Linked DNA regions of Homo sapiens: all the other regions are linked to region 1. Evidence: promoter capture Hi-C in human tissues and cell types (Jung and others, 2019). All regions are on one chromosome and are shown on one strand. Each heading gives the region's core, a stretch centred on a gene start or on the middle of the fragment in contact. The rest is flanking DNA. Distances are from core to core; before and after follow the strand shown. Region 1 holds the start of DOLK (dolichol kinase). Region 2 overlaps TRUB2 (TruB pseudouridine synthase family member 2). Region 3 holds the start of CERCAM (cerebral endothelial cell adhesion molecule). Region 4 holds the start of URM1 (ubiquitin related modifier 1).

Evidence for each region. Contacts are between HindIII fragments. The study calls those that stand out against the background at their distance.
Region 2: a fragment that was not itself captured here is called in contact with the fragment with the promoter of DOLK in region 1 in 1 of the 25 tissues and cell types used here (dorsolateral prefrontal cortex).
Region 3: the fragment with the promoter of CERCAM here is called in contact with the fragment with the promoter of DOLK in region 1 in 1 of the 25 tissues and cell types used here (lymphoblastoid cells).
Region 4: a contact is called between the fragment with the promoter of URM1 here and the fragment with the promoter of DOLK in region 1, in 1 of the 25 tissues and cell types used here (dorsolateral prefrontal cortex).

What each region holds. Positions count from the first base shown.
Region 1 is chr9:128,946,176-128,949,175 of GRCh38, forward strand. It overlaps DOLK (dolichol kinase), which reads right to left and starts at 1,428. Exons shown (of 1, transcript NM_014908.4): 1 at 1-1,428. The coding sequence starts at 1,128. NUP188 (nucleoporin 188) reads left to right here and starts at 1,524. Exons shown (of 44, transcript NM_015354.3): 1 at 1,524-1,576. The coding sequence starts at 1,545. RefSeq lists enhancers at 188-750, 751-1,312, 1,174-1,243, 1,313-1,874, 1,594-1,643. The HindIII fragment of the contact is 11,289 bases long and covers 1-3,000 here.
Region 2 is chr9:128,316,024-128,319,125 of GRCh38, forward strand. TRUB2 (TruB pseudouridine synthase family member 2) reads right to left here. Exons shown (of 8, transcript NM_015679.3): 3 at 1,129-1,203. It overlaps LOC105376286 (a long non-coding RNA gene), which reads left to right. Exons shown (of 3, transcript XR_930377.3): 3 at 1-876. Among named protein-coding and RNA genes, the nearest start is that of TRUB2, 4.9 kb to the right of the region's middle. The HindIII fragment of the contact is 1,882 bases long and covers 644-2,525 here.
Region 3 is chr9:128,419,502-128,422,570 of GRCh38, forward strand. It overlaps CERCAM (cerebral endothelial cell adhesion molecule), which reads left to right and starts at 1,356. Exons shown (of 13, transcript NM_016174.5): 1 at 1,356-1,573. The coding sequence starts at 1,377. RefSeq lists a silencer at 742-1,641 and an enhancer at 1,902-2,091. The HindIII fragment of the contact is 34,497 bases long and covers 1-3,069 here.
Region 4 is chr9:128,369,780-128,373,192 of GRCh38, forward strand. URM1 (ubiquitin related modifier 1) reads left to right here and starts at 1,595. Exons shown (of 5, transcript NM_030914.4): 1 at 1,595-1,636. The coding sequence starts at 1,602. RefSeq lists enhancers at 1-766, 767-1,630, 1,694-1,793. The HindIII fragment of the contact is 22,131 bases long and covers 1-3,413 here.

The DNA of each region.
Region 1 (3,000 bases), core at 178-2,677:
CACATACTCCAGGAAGATGAAGACCGCCAGGCATACAGTGGCGGCTACATAGAGCAGTGGCCGGTCAAAGATGATACCTGGGATGTAGGTGGCTACCACAATGAGGTGGAAATACTTTCGGGCGATGGTGGGGGCCTGGTGCTTCTTGGACTCGGAAGATGACCGCTTGGCATTCTGGTACAGCACCACCAGGCAGGCCAAGGTGGCCAGCAGAGACCAATAGGCTAGGAGGTAGATGCGGGTGTCTGTCTGGAAGAGAAACTGAAGAAGCCAGAGCAGGGGATTCCTGCGGATGAGCCGGTGCAGCCAGGGTAGGACCACACCAAGGCTCAGCACACAGGTCATGAGGTGGAAGAAGATGGAGGAGGCCCAGGTGCCTGAGTCCATGAAGACAAACAGAGTGCTGAAGAAAATGCCCATGAGTACCATCCCTACTACCACCACCAGCAGGAAGAAGTCCACTGGGTCCCCCTGACTTTCCACCAGTGTCAGAGAGCGCTTGATGAGCTGGTTGAGGACAAAGCTAATGCCACCCAATACCAGCAGTGCCTCACCAGGGGTGAAGCAGCGGGGCAGCAGGTACAGCAGGATCATGTTGAGATAAACGAAGATCAGAAGGACTTCCAGGACTTCGATCACCTCCCCCACGCTCAACGAGTGCTTCATGATATAAATGATAACACCTCCAGCCAAGCCCAAGATGACACAAGTGTTGGTTGGCACTGGGCGAGTGATGCCGAGCGCCAACACTGATGAGAAGAGGGCCACTGCCATGCCAGTGGCTGCCACCACAATGCCAAAACGCTCAAAGAACGGGTTCCCAGCAGTCTGGCACCGCTCCTTCATGACTAGTCCAAGCAAAGGCATGACCATGGAGGCGGGCAATAGGCCACTGTTTGCGGACATTCGGAACTGGAAGACGGCGCTTCCCTGCTGTAGCAGCCGGTCCCACTTGTATTGGACGTAGAAGGCCTGCACTGCGAGGGCCACGGCGCACCACGAGTATCGGTCCCATACGGTTGCGTGGATGCTCAGCACCACTGCAAACACTACTGCCGCCTCTGCCAGCACCGATCCACTCAGCGGAGCCCCAGGCCCCGGGGCCGGAGATGGGCACTCTCGGGTCATATCTCTAGACCTGGGGCTTCACGGAGGCCGGGGCGACTACGGACGCCCTAGACTTCGGGCCCCTCAGCCCCGTCAAGCAGAGGGAGGCACTTTCACCCGGCCAGCAACCTTCTCCCTCCGTTCTCCAGCAGCGAGGAGGGAACTCCACCGCAGGTCACTTCTGCGGCCTGGGAGCTGGCGCCCGGCCACCCCCCACAGCCTCCAACCTACGGCGTAGACGTCGCCACTCTGCAGCCTTCCTCACAGTTACAGCCGCCCCCGCTGCCGGCTCCTCACCTCTTTGGGCCTCGCCATCTTGGCACCGCCCCGCGGCAACGTCACGTGACGAAATCCCCGCCCACGCTCCGGGTCCGGGGGCGAGCGGTCACGTGGGCATGGCGTCTGGGGGCGGGGTTAGGGCGAGCGGGCGCGCGAAGATGGCGGCGGCCGCCGGCGGGCCGTGTGTGAGGTGCGGAGCGGGTCGAATGGACCGGGGTGGCTGTGAAGCGCGGTGTCAAAGCCGAGCGGAAGCGGGGCGGGAATTGGAGGCGGGATGTGGCGACAGTGGCAGGGCCAACCCCGGCTGGATGGACGGGCACCGAGACGGGAGGCGGTTACGTCCAAACGGTCCCCGCGCGCGGGGATCTGAAGAGTCTTCTTCAGGAGGGGGGCCGGCTCTTCACCCCTTCCCTCCGCGCTCGGCCTCCCATCTCCTCACCCAGGGCCCTTTGCCTTCCTCCTCTCTCACCTCCGACGCGTCTCTTGGCGCCCCACCCGCGCTTCCTTCTCCGGCCGTGACGCTCCCTCGAGCCACGGGGAGCTTTGCGGTCTCCTGGGGTACCCCCCACCCACGTCCCTGCTGCAGGCTCCCAGTGTCCTGCCCCGGCGTCGAGTGCGCCCTGCTGGCTCCCCGACCTCTCCCGCGATCTGTTCTTGTTAGGATTTTGTTTCGCGTTGAGCGGAGCCACGCTTGCGGCTTCTGTCCTCTCCGCGCCTCGTATCGTTCTTTTCTTGCACTGAATCAAGTCAGCCAGCATGTCCAAATCCTCCAAGAGATTTCAGGGATTGAACTAGGCTTTAGGGACAAGAAGATGAAATATTATATACGAAAACTACAATTCTGACAAAGTGCTTTCTAGCGTCAGACCCTGGTGGAGCGCTTCCCAGGAGTTATCTCATTCAATTCTCGCAACTCCGAGAGGCGCCTTCTATTTCACAGATGACTCAGAAGTCCGGCTCAGAGCTAGCCAAGTGATAAAGAGAGCCTTCAAGCTGAAGTCTGCGTACCTCCAGTGCTATAACCAGACCACCACGCCTCCTTCTGTCTTCCACATTGCAGCTCGAAGGTCTTCGTTCTTCCCACCACCCTCCCTCAAAGTTAAACATCCCCGTCTCTTATCCTTCCCTGTGCCAGCAGTGTTTTCCCCACTTTTTTTTTTTTTTTTTTTTTTTTTTTTTTTTGAGACGGAGTCTCGCTCTGTCGCCCAGGCTGGAGTGCAATGGCACGATCTCGGCTCACTGCAAGCTCTGTCTCCCGGGTTCATGCCATTCTCCTGCCTCAGCCTCCCAAGTAGCTGGGGATACAGGCACCCGCCACAACGCCTGGCTAATTTTTTGTATTTTCAGTAGAGACAGGGTTTCACTGTGTTAGCCAGGATGGTCTCGATCTTCTGACCTCATGATCCGCCCGCCTCGACCTCCCAAAGTGCTGGGATTACAGGCATGAGCCACCGTGCCCGGCCCTAACAATATTATTATATAACAAGATTACTTTCCAAAAATTTAACAAATCGTTTTGTATATTGAGATTTTTTGCTTTTAGAGAGCAGACAAAATGGCTATGAGGCAGTGTACAAGTTTGTATGATCAGAAAGAGCAAAATTACCTCTGTTC
Region 2 (3,102 bases), core at 335-2,834, 630 kb before region 1:
CTGAAGGCCAGGCGCAGTGGCTCATGCCTGTAATCCCAGAACTTTGGGAGGCCGAGGCAGGTGGATCACCTGAGGTCAGGAGTTTGAGACCAGCTTGGCCAACATGGTGAAACCCCATCTCTACCAAAAAATACAAAATTAACCAGGTGTGGTGCTACACTACACTCCAGCTTGGGCAACAAGAGTGAGACTCCGTCTCACAAAAAAAAAAAAAAAAAATTAGCCAGGCGTGGTGGCGGGCACCTGTAATCCCACCTACTCGGGAGGCTAAGGCAGGGAGAATTGCTTGAACCCAGGAGGCGGAGGTTCCAGTGAGCCGAGATCATGCCATTGCACTCCAGCCTGGGAGACAGAGCAAGACTCTGTCTCAGGAAAAAAAAAAAATACTGATTCCTGTGGGTGCTGTGCAGTCGGCACAGAGGAAGGGCCCAATAAACGGTGGCCACTGTGGTCACTTCCTGCCTTTCTCCCGGTCTGTTTCTCCCTCTGGCTGAGGGACAGAATAACTCTGCATTCACTCGTGGGGAGACAGAACAGGGAGAGGGGGCATGAGATCATGTCTGCCTGCCTGTGCCTCAGGAAGCAAGACAAGGGGACTGTGACTGTCGCGGCTGGAGGATGTGGGCACCACCTGACCCTGGGGACACAGATGGCTCATGACTAGGGCTTTGTGTGTCCAGACCCAGCCACATGCAGGCCCTGGCCATTAGGTCCAGAGTCACGCGCCTGGCTGCCCCATGATGCAATGATGGTTTTCCTTCTCCGGACCAGGGGTATTCACTGGCCATGGGACCCAGAACAAGTCACCTAAATCCTACTTTCTTCTTCCATAAAATCATATAGTATCTACCTAATAAAGTTGTTGTGGTAAATAAATGTGCATAAAGGGCCTCGAACTATGTCATGTGTGGGAATCACTGAATAAAGGTGGGTGACTGTGGTATTAACCTGTGATTACCTCCGTCCCACCTATCCACTCCCCAGCTGATCAGCCTTGGGGCAGGAATCAGGGCAGGAGAGGAGTGGTGGGACGTGGGTGCCAGGTAAGAAGTGGGCTGGGCTCCTGGTAGCTTCAGGATCTTTTCTCAAGCCTTATCACTGTACCCCCAGGCTTCTCACATCACCTACCAAGTACTCCAGAAGCCTGGGCATCCAACCGATGTCCCACGCCAACCTTGAGATGGGCGAATGCTGGTCCACATACTGGAAAGAAACAAACAAGGTCCATTTTCTCAACTAAATGCCACCCCAGGATGGCTTTGGGCTGCATGTTGACCTCGTTCTCAGAATGGGCCTCATGGAGCCCAAACTAGCATCAGGCCAGACTCTCAGGCTTCCCCGTCATGGAATCTGGGACCCTGAACTGTATCCTCAGTGCCCTGGGATCCAAAGGGCAGCCCAAGATGCCTCTTACTCTGCCTATCATCAGTCTCCCAGTGAGAGGCTCTAAGAAGACTGGCGTAACACTGAAGGTCAAGAGTGCGGGGTTCCCTGCCCAGCTCTACTGAGGAAGAGTCCCTGGAGGAAAATGGAGGCTGTGAGCTCCTTAAGGCAGAACCTGGGTGTGTCAACTCACTAGCTGCTCAGGAAAGAACTACTGAAAGAATAAATGCAGGAATGAGCCAGAAGTGTTTACACTTCTACAGATTAAGAGGAATCTAGGGGAAGAGTCCAGGGTAGTTAAGGGCCTATTGAATCCAGGCCATGTTACTAAATGTCAACACTGAGCCTCAGTTTTCTCCCTTGTGAAATGAAAATAGGACCCATCTCACAGCACTGTGGTGATATCAATGAGGATTGTACTTGGGGGAAGCTTAACACAATGCCTAGTACAGAGTGGCGACTCAATACATTATACTTCTTATTGTTACCATATAATAGAGTCATTGAATATCACAAGTCCAACGGGTTTTTGAGGTTTCTGGTCAAACCTCTAGATTCCCTGACACATGCCTTAATCACATCTAGTGATGGGGACACATTACCAGAACCAGTTCCATTGTTGGGCAACTTTATTCAGTAAAAAAATCACTCTTTCGGCTGGGCGCAGTGGCTCACACCTGTAATCCCAGCACTTTGGGAGGCCAAGGTGGGCGGATCACCTGAGGTCAGGAGTTCGAGACCAGCCTGGCCAACATGGTGAAACCCCATCTCTACTAAAAATACAAAAATTAGCTGGGTGTGGTGGCACACACCTGTAATCCCAGCTACTTGGGAGGCTGAGGCAAGAGAATAGCTTGAACCTGGGAGATGGAGGTTGCAGTGAGCTGAGATCACACCACTGCACTCCAGACTCCAGCCTGGGCAACAGAGCAAGACTCTGTCAAATAAATAAATAAATAAACTTATTCTTTCCCAGAAACCCAAAACCCCTACCTTAGGACTTCTACCTAGGGTCTCATTTCTCACCTGGAGTCCCAGAATAGAAAAAGGGTCAGCAAACTACAGTCCACAAGTCAAACCTGAAGACTGAAGACTGTTTTTTTTTTGTGTGTGTGTGTTTGCTTGTTTTGTTTTGTTTTGTTTTGAGATGGAGTCTCACTTTGTCACCCAGGCTGGAGTGCAGTGGCGCCATCTCAACTCACTGCAACCTCCACCTCCCAGATTCAAGCGATTCTCATGCCTCAGCCTCCTGAGTAGCTAGGATTACAGGCACCTGCCTCCATACCTAGCTAATTTTTTGTATTTTTAGTAGAGACGGAGTTTCATCATGTTGGCCAGGCTGGTCTTGAACTCTTGACCTCAAGTGATCCGCCTGCCTCGGCCTCCCAAAGTGCTGGGATTACATGAATGAGCCACCGCATCTGGCTTGTTTTTTGTGGCCTATGAGTTAAGAATGGTTTTTGCATTTTTCAGTGGTTCAAAATAAATCAAGAGACCAGTTGCAAGGGCTCACGCTTATAATCCCAGCACTTTGAGACGCCGAGGCAGGCAGATCACTTGAGCCCAGGAGTTCAATACTAGCATGGGCAACGTGACAAAACCCCATCTCTACAAAAAATACAAAAATTAGCCAGGCATGGCCGGGCGTGGTGGCTCACACCTGTAATCCCAGCACTTTGGGAGGCCGAGGCGGGTGGATCACGAGGTCAGGAGATCGAG
Region 3 (3,069 bases), core at 106-2,605, 530 kb before region 1:
CCACGCGGGAAAAGCTGCCAGTGCATTCATTCTCTCGAGGAATCCCTGCAAACCCTCCCAGATGGGTGGCGTTATCAGCCCGATTTTACCCGAGAGGCTCCTGAGGGAAAGGGACCTGTCTGAGGTTGGTGACAGACACCCAGTTCGATCCCATCTGTGGTGCCGCCAGGCCGCTCCCTTTTCTGCTCCTCTCCCGAGAGGCTGCAGAGTTCTTTCCCTCCCAGCAGGGTCCTAAGGACCCCGGCGGTGCTCCAGGGGAGCCAACATCCCCTGCTTTGGAGGACGGACGGGTCGGGTCGCAGTGAGCAGCTCCGTGGTGTCCCCTAGTTCTACACTCAGACCAAGAGAGGGCTGTGAGGGCTGTGCTCTTTTTTTTTTTTTCTTTTTGAGACGGAGTCTCGGTCTGTCATCCAGGCTGTAGTGCAGTGGCGCGATCTCGGCTCACTGCAACCTCCGCCTCCCGGGTTCAAGCGATTCTCCTGCCTCAGCCTCCCAAGTAGCTGGGAGTACAGGCACCCGCCACGACGCCCGGCTAATTTTTGTATTTTTAGTACAGATGGGATTTCACCATCTTGGCCAGGCTGGTCTTGAACTGATCTCAGGTGATCCTCCCGCCTCGGTCTCCCAAAGTGCCGGGATTACAGGCGTGAGCTACCACGCCCGGCCTGGCTGTGCTCTCTTAAAGGGCCGAAGCAATGCGGGTGCTGGCGACCGACGCAAGGAGGTGACGCACAGGGGACTTAAGGAGCGGACCGCCGCGGGAGGACGCGCCCAGCTCAGGGGGACTCCCTCTGCGCCCCCCACGCTGGGTCTCCGGCCCACGCGTGGCCCGGCTGGTCTGCGGAGCTAGCGCCAGGGCCGCCAGAGGGCGCCCGGGGCGGAGGATGGGGCGGGAGCCGGGGAAGCCCGGGAGGTGGTGGCCGAGTGGGCGCCGCCCCTCTGGGTCTGCGGCTCAGGTCGAAGAGTCGGCTGCGTGGGCCGGGGAATCCGGATTCCGGGGGTTCAACGCCCAGGGGTTCCATGAGCCCCTACTGTTCTCGGACGCCCGGCCGGCCCCGACGCACTCGTCCTAGCACCCCTCCCCTGTCCGGTCCTCCGGCCCCTCCGCCGTCGCCCCTCCGGGGTCCAGCCGGGCGGGGCTGCTCCAGGGTCGCGGCTGGCGCGGGTCCCCGGGCCCTGGCCCTCCGGTGCCCCGGGCCAAGGAGAGAAAACTTGAGCATCCACGCACAGGGGTGGGGAGCAGGATCCCACTCTGAGGGTGCACTGCCCCGCCCTCTCCGGGTCTGCCTCGGCCCCGCCCGGGCCCCAGGCCCCGCCCCCTCCCCTCGGCCGGCCCGAGAGCTCCGGGGGCCGCTGCAGCCGCCCAAGCGCCCGCCATGCGCGCTGCCCGCGCCGCGCCGCTGCTCCAGCTGCTGCTCCTGCTGGGGCCGTGGCTGGAGGCTGCGGGCGTTGCGGAGTCGCCGCTGCCCGCCGTGGTCCTTGCCATCCTGGCCCGCAATGCCGAACACTCGCTGCCCCACTACCTGGGCGCTCTGGAGCGGCTGGACTACCCCCGGGCCAGGATGGCCCTCTGGTGAGAGACCCGGGCATTGGCACCGAGTGGGCACCTAACCCCCAGCTTCGCAGATGGCCCCCGCCCCCGGCGGCCCTGTCTGCTCGCTCCCTGCCCAGACACCACCTAGACAGGCCCCTCCCCTCACAGACGGCCCTGCCAGCCCGAGCCGCCAGAGAGGACCCCGAGCCCCCTGCTGGGAGACGACAGACCTCTGAGGCCACAGGCCGACGCGGGACACCCACCCCTCCTTCTGGTCCCCTACTCCTTCCTCTTGGGGCCTTCCCTGGGTGTAGGTTGGGCCCAGCCAGCCCTTTTCACCCCAGCCTTCAGGGCCCAGCTCAACCCCAGTGGGACCTGTGGTTGGCTGGATTTGAAGAGGAGCAGACAGGAACCTCTGAAGTCCACTGGGGCCCAACGTGGCAGGGATCGACCACGCTGGAGGCTTCCGGGCACAGGTTGGGGGTGCCATCAGCACTGGGCTCCGGGCTGTGCAGGGGAGTCAGACCGGCCCCCCCACCGCCCCCGTGCTGGGGCCAGCTCTCTTGGTAGATCTTGGTAGAGGGGCGGGATCCTGTCAGCCAAGGGCAGTCCCCCTTCCTGGAGCCTCTCCCCTCTGGCATCTCTGTACCCCCAGGGCACTGGGATCGAAGGCCACAACCCCTGGTCTGTAGACACCAGAACAGGGAGGAGTCCCTGGCTGAGGTTGGGGGTAAACTGAGAAAAATGACAAGCCACCCTCTTCAACACACCACAGTTGGGCTGGGGGGGTGGAGCCCTGGCCTGGGGAGGCCGCCCACAATTACCACAGTTTGGGAGTTTGTTAGTTCCCACCCCTGTAAGACTTGACACGTAGTCTTCATTTCTGGGGAATTGGCTTAAAGGGGCAGCATCACCCAAAACCTGGGCACTTGGCTAAACCCCCACCTCTGTTATGGGGGCCCCTTCCCCAGGAGAGGGGAGGCTGTGCCCCATGACAGCAGAGCTTGGACCCATCTGCATTCTTAGGGACGCTTAGAGCATGGTTTGGTCCTTATTACAACCTGGGGGTGGAGGAAAGCAGCAGCTCTTCTGTCTAGTCCCCATTCAGAGAGGGACAGGGGCTGGCCTGTGGTCACACAGCCACAGGTCACATAGGTAGGTATCTGCCCACCTAACGAAGGTAACCAGGGAATGCACCAGGTGTGATCCTTAAAGTCGAGGTACTTTTCATCTTTCAAAATGCATTCGTTGGCCAGGTGTGGTGGCTCACGCCTGTAATTTCAGCACTTTGGGAGGCCGAAGTGGGCAGATCACCTGAGGTGAGGAGTTCAAGACCAGCCTGGCTAACATGGTGAAACCCCATCTCTACTAAACAAACAAAAATTAGCCGGGCATGGTGGTGCACACCTGTAATCCCAGGTACTCAGGAGGCTGAGGCAGGAGAATCACTTGAACCCGGGAGGCGGAGGTTGCAGTGAGTCGAGATCATACCACTGCACTACAGCCTGGGCGACAGAGCAAGATTCCATCTCAAA
Region 4 (3,413 bases), core at 345-2,844, 580 kb before region 1:
AATTTTTGTATTTTTAGTAGAGACAGGGTTTCACCATGTTGGCTAGACTGGTCTTGAACTCCTGACCTCGTGATCCGCCCATCGTGGCCTCTCGAAGTGCTAGGATTACAGGCATAAGCCACTGTGCCTGGCCAACTTCATTCCATTTCTGCCCTGGGCTTTTTTTTTTTTTTGAGACAGAGTCTTGCTCTGTCACCAGGCTGGAGTGCAGTGGCTCGATGTCAGCTCACTGCAACCTCCACCTCCCGGGTTCCAGCGATTCTTCTGCCTCAGCCTCCCGAGTAGCTGGGACTACAGGCGCACGCCACCACATCCAGCTAATTTTTGTATTTTTTTAGTAAAGACAGGGTTTTGCCATGTTGGCCAGGATGGTCTTGATCTCTTGACCTCGTGATCCGCCTGCCTCGGCCTCCCAAATTGCTGGGATGACAGGCGTGAGCCGCCGCGCCCGGCCTGCCCTGAGCCGCCGCGCCCGGCCTGCCCTGAGCTTTTGCAACAGGCTCCAGTGGTCTCCGTGTCTCTTTCCTTATTCCCCTCAAATCATTCTCCATATTGCAGCCAGAAATTATATTTTAAAACACAATTCTAAAATGTCACTGTCTCCCAAAACCCTTCAGTAGTCTCCCACTGCTCCTAGAGACTGAAATGTTTACCTGCTTACAAGGCAGGGGTTGGCCCCTGAGCACCTTTGCAGCTCCCTCTCTAGATGGATGAAAGTCAGGCTCCCTAACTTCCACCTTCCTCTCCATGTTCCAGCATGTTCTCACCCAGAGCCTCTGGGCCTTTTGTCCTCCTCACTGGAATGCTCCTAGAGGTTTCTCTCCCCTCACAGCCACCTAGTTTACTCAGGTTTTAGAGCCCAGCAAGTCCAGTCTACTCAGTTTTCTTTTTGAAGTTCCTATAACTTCAGTTCCTTTATTTAAGTTTGAGGTTGTACATGTCTTAGTATGCTTATTTGATTACAGTTAGTCTCCCCGCTAGACTGTGAGTGCCCTAAAGGCAGGAACCTTGCCCATCCCCTTTACCACTAGCACCGATCAAAATGCCTGGCACAGGGAGGCGCAATGAACAGCTGTTGAACGAGTGACTTCCAAATCGACAGCAAAGGGGGCGGCTGGATAGCGAGTCGCCCGCTCAGGAGAGATTCTGGGTCGGAAATAAAGATCTGGGAGTCATTTATAATTCCAACCAGACGAGTAGATGGGCTGGCCCAAGCGGTGTGTAGACTGAAGAGATTCTAACTCATGCAAGATAAGCAGCTACGTGGCTCACGGTCACGTCGCAAAAAACCTGGGGGCTCTCCTCCGCCTGCTTGTGGTCCCGTACAAGGCGCTTCCCACCCTGGGTCTCTGAGCCCAGTCGGTGAAAGACGGAAGGAGACCGATTCACAGCCCCAACAGCGCCGGTGATAGTCCCTCTGCCACCCCTTTCCCTCCGCTGCCCTCCCCTCCCCTCCCCTCCCCTCGATGACTTCCTCCAACAGCTGACGAAGCTGGATCCCTGGGCACCGCCTCTTCCGTCCGCGGCACCCGGAGACGCCCGGAAATTTGCGGGCGCGCCGGAAGTTGAGGGGAGTTTCCTGCGAGCTCGGCTTCCTCAACATGGCTGCGCCCTTGTCAGTGGAGGTGGAGTTCGGGTGAGTCACAGAGCTGGGGCGCCGTGGGGATGGATTGAAGTCGTCGGGCCCAGAATTCCTTTCCTTCTGCCGTGGGGCCTGACACGGCCGAATCACTGGGTGTCCCAGTGCCCGCTGTGAGCTACGCTACCCGCCTAGGAGAGTCTGAGAGGCCAGTCTCTCTTGGCAGTGAGGCCGTCTGTCCGGAAATAGAGGCGCACATTGGGAGGGAAATGCTCTCTGTGTACCACTCGGTGCCCTGTGCTCCGCCGGAGTCGGAGGTCGTGACTGTTAGCAGGCAGCCTCTCTCTCTTCTTTTCCATTCCTATCTCGGACCAATCCCATCTGTTTGGCATCTGAGCTCCTAGAACCTAGAAGGACCACCCTCCACCCGCTGATTTCATTCTTTGGGCAGCAGTTTCTTTTTACACTGTTATTAAGGTCTTGTTTCTCGTGGGATGTAGTGGCCAGGGCGGGACTTTTTTCTTTTTCTTTCCTAAGACTTGGGGATGGTAAACAGACCTGAGCCTCCTTCAGGACAGTCAGTAAACTTGCTGATTGCCTTCTGCAGAACTGGAGTCAGGTGGAGACACGGGGACAAATAAGAAATCACACTGAAGGGAACTAACAGGGACAGTATAGTATACACAAGATGAAAAATGCAGAGATTGGGACACACACCAGTTACTGAAGAAACACAGAGCAGGGAGGAAGTCTACCCAAGGCACTATTTGTGCTTCCTACAAACAGGTTTGTCATATGGTTTCAAAGCTGAGGGAAACTGCAGAGCTTAGAGAGAAGGCAAAGAAACAGGCCTTGAAAGATGGGTGGTGTACTTTACAGTATCACGTGGAAAAGAGGAAATAGGTAGGGATGTGTGTGTGTGTGTGTGGAATAGGTAGGTGTGTGTGTGTGCCTGTGTGTGTGTAGATAAGCCAAGGTCTATGTGACAGGAAAAGTCTGGGATGGGAATCTAAAACCTCTGCCCAGTGCCTTTCTTCTCATTGGATGCCTCCCATTTCTTTCATGTTTTCCCTTAATTGGGTAGTTCATTCACCAGCCATTTATTGAGTGCCTACCATGTGCCGGGCAGCAAGCCAGACACTGAGGATACAAAGATAAATAGAAGTCTGTCCGTGCCCTACAGCGTTCAGCATTTCTGCCCCTTAGAAGGGGGGTAAGTCTCATGACTAAGTGCATTTTAATTGATATTGTCTGGCTGCTTGGATCCAATTAGAACTGTATTGGTCTGGACTCCTCACTGTTTTGCCTCACTGACCCTTGGCCCAGCTACACTCCCCAAAGCCTGGGATTCTAGGAGGATCCCTGCTTCCTTGACAGGCCTCAGCAGAGCTGGAAAGAGAGAAGCCACAGACTGCTGTGTTAAGATTTATCTGGGCCAGGCATGGAGGCTCATGCCTGTAATCCTAGTACTTTGGGAGGCTTGGGCAGGAGGACTGCTTGAGCCCAAGAATTCGAGACCAGCCTTGGCAACATGGGGAGACTTCATCTCTACCAAAAAAAAAAAAAAGAAGATTTATCTGCAGACAACTTGCCTTTCATCCTCATGAGTCAGACATGGTCTTTGTTTATCAACAATGTCTCTGCTAGGTACTGTGCTAGCTCAGTGGGGAAGTCATGTGAGGAAGATGGGGCCATTGCTCTCCAGAGCTTACAAACCAGCACAATTGCCCTTTTTCTGACCCAATCATCTCTAACTTCAGTCTCCCTTACCTCCAAGAGCAATAATGACCCCTGGCAAGGCAGGACAACATTCCTCCACCCACCCACCCACCCA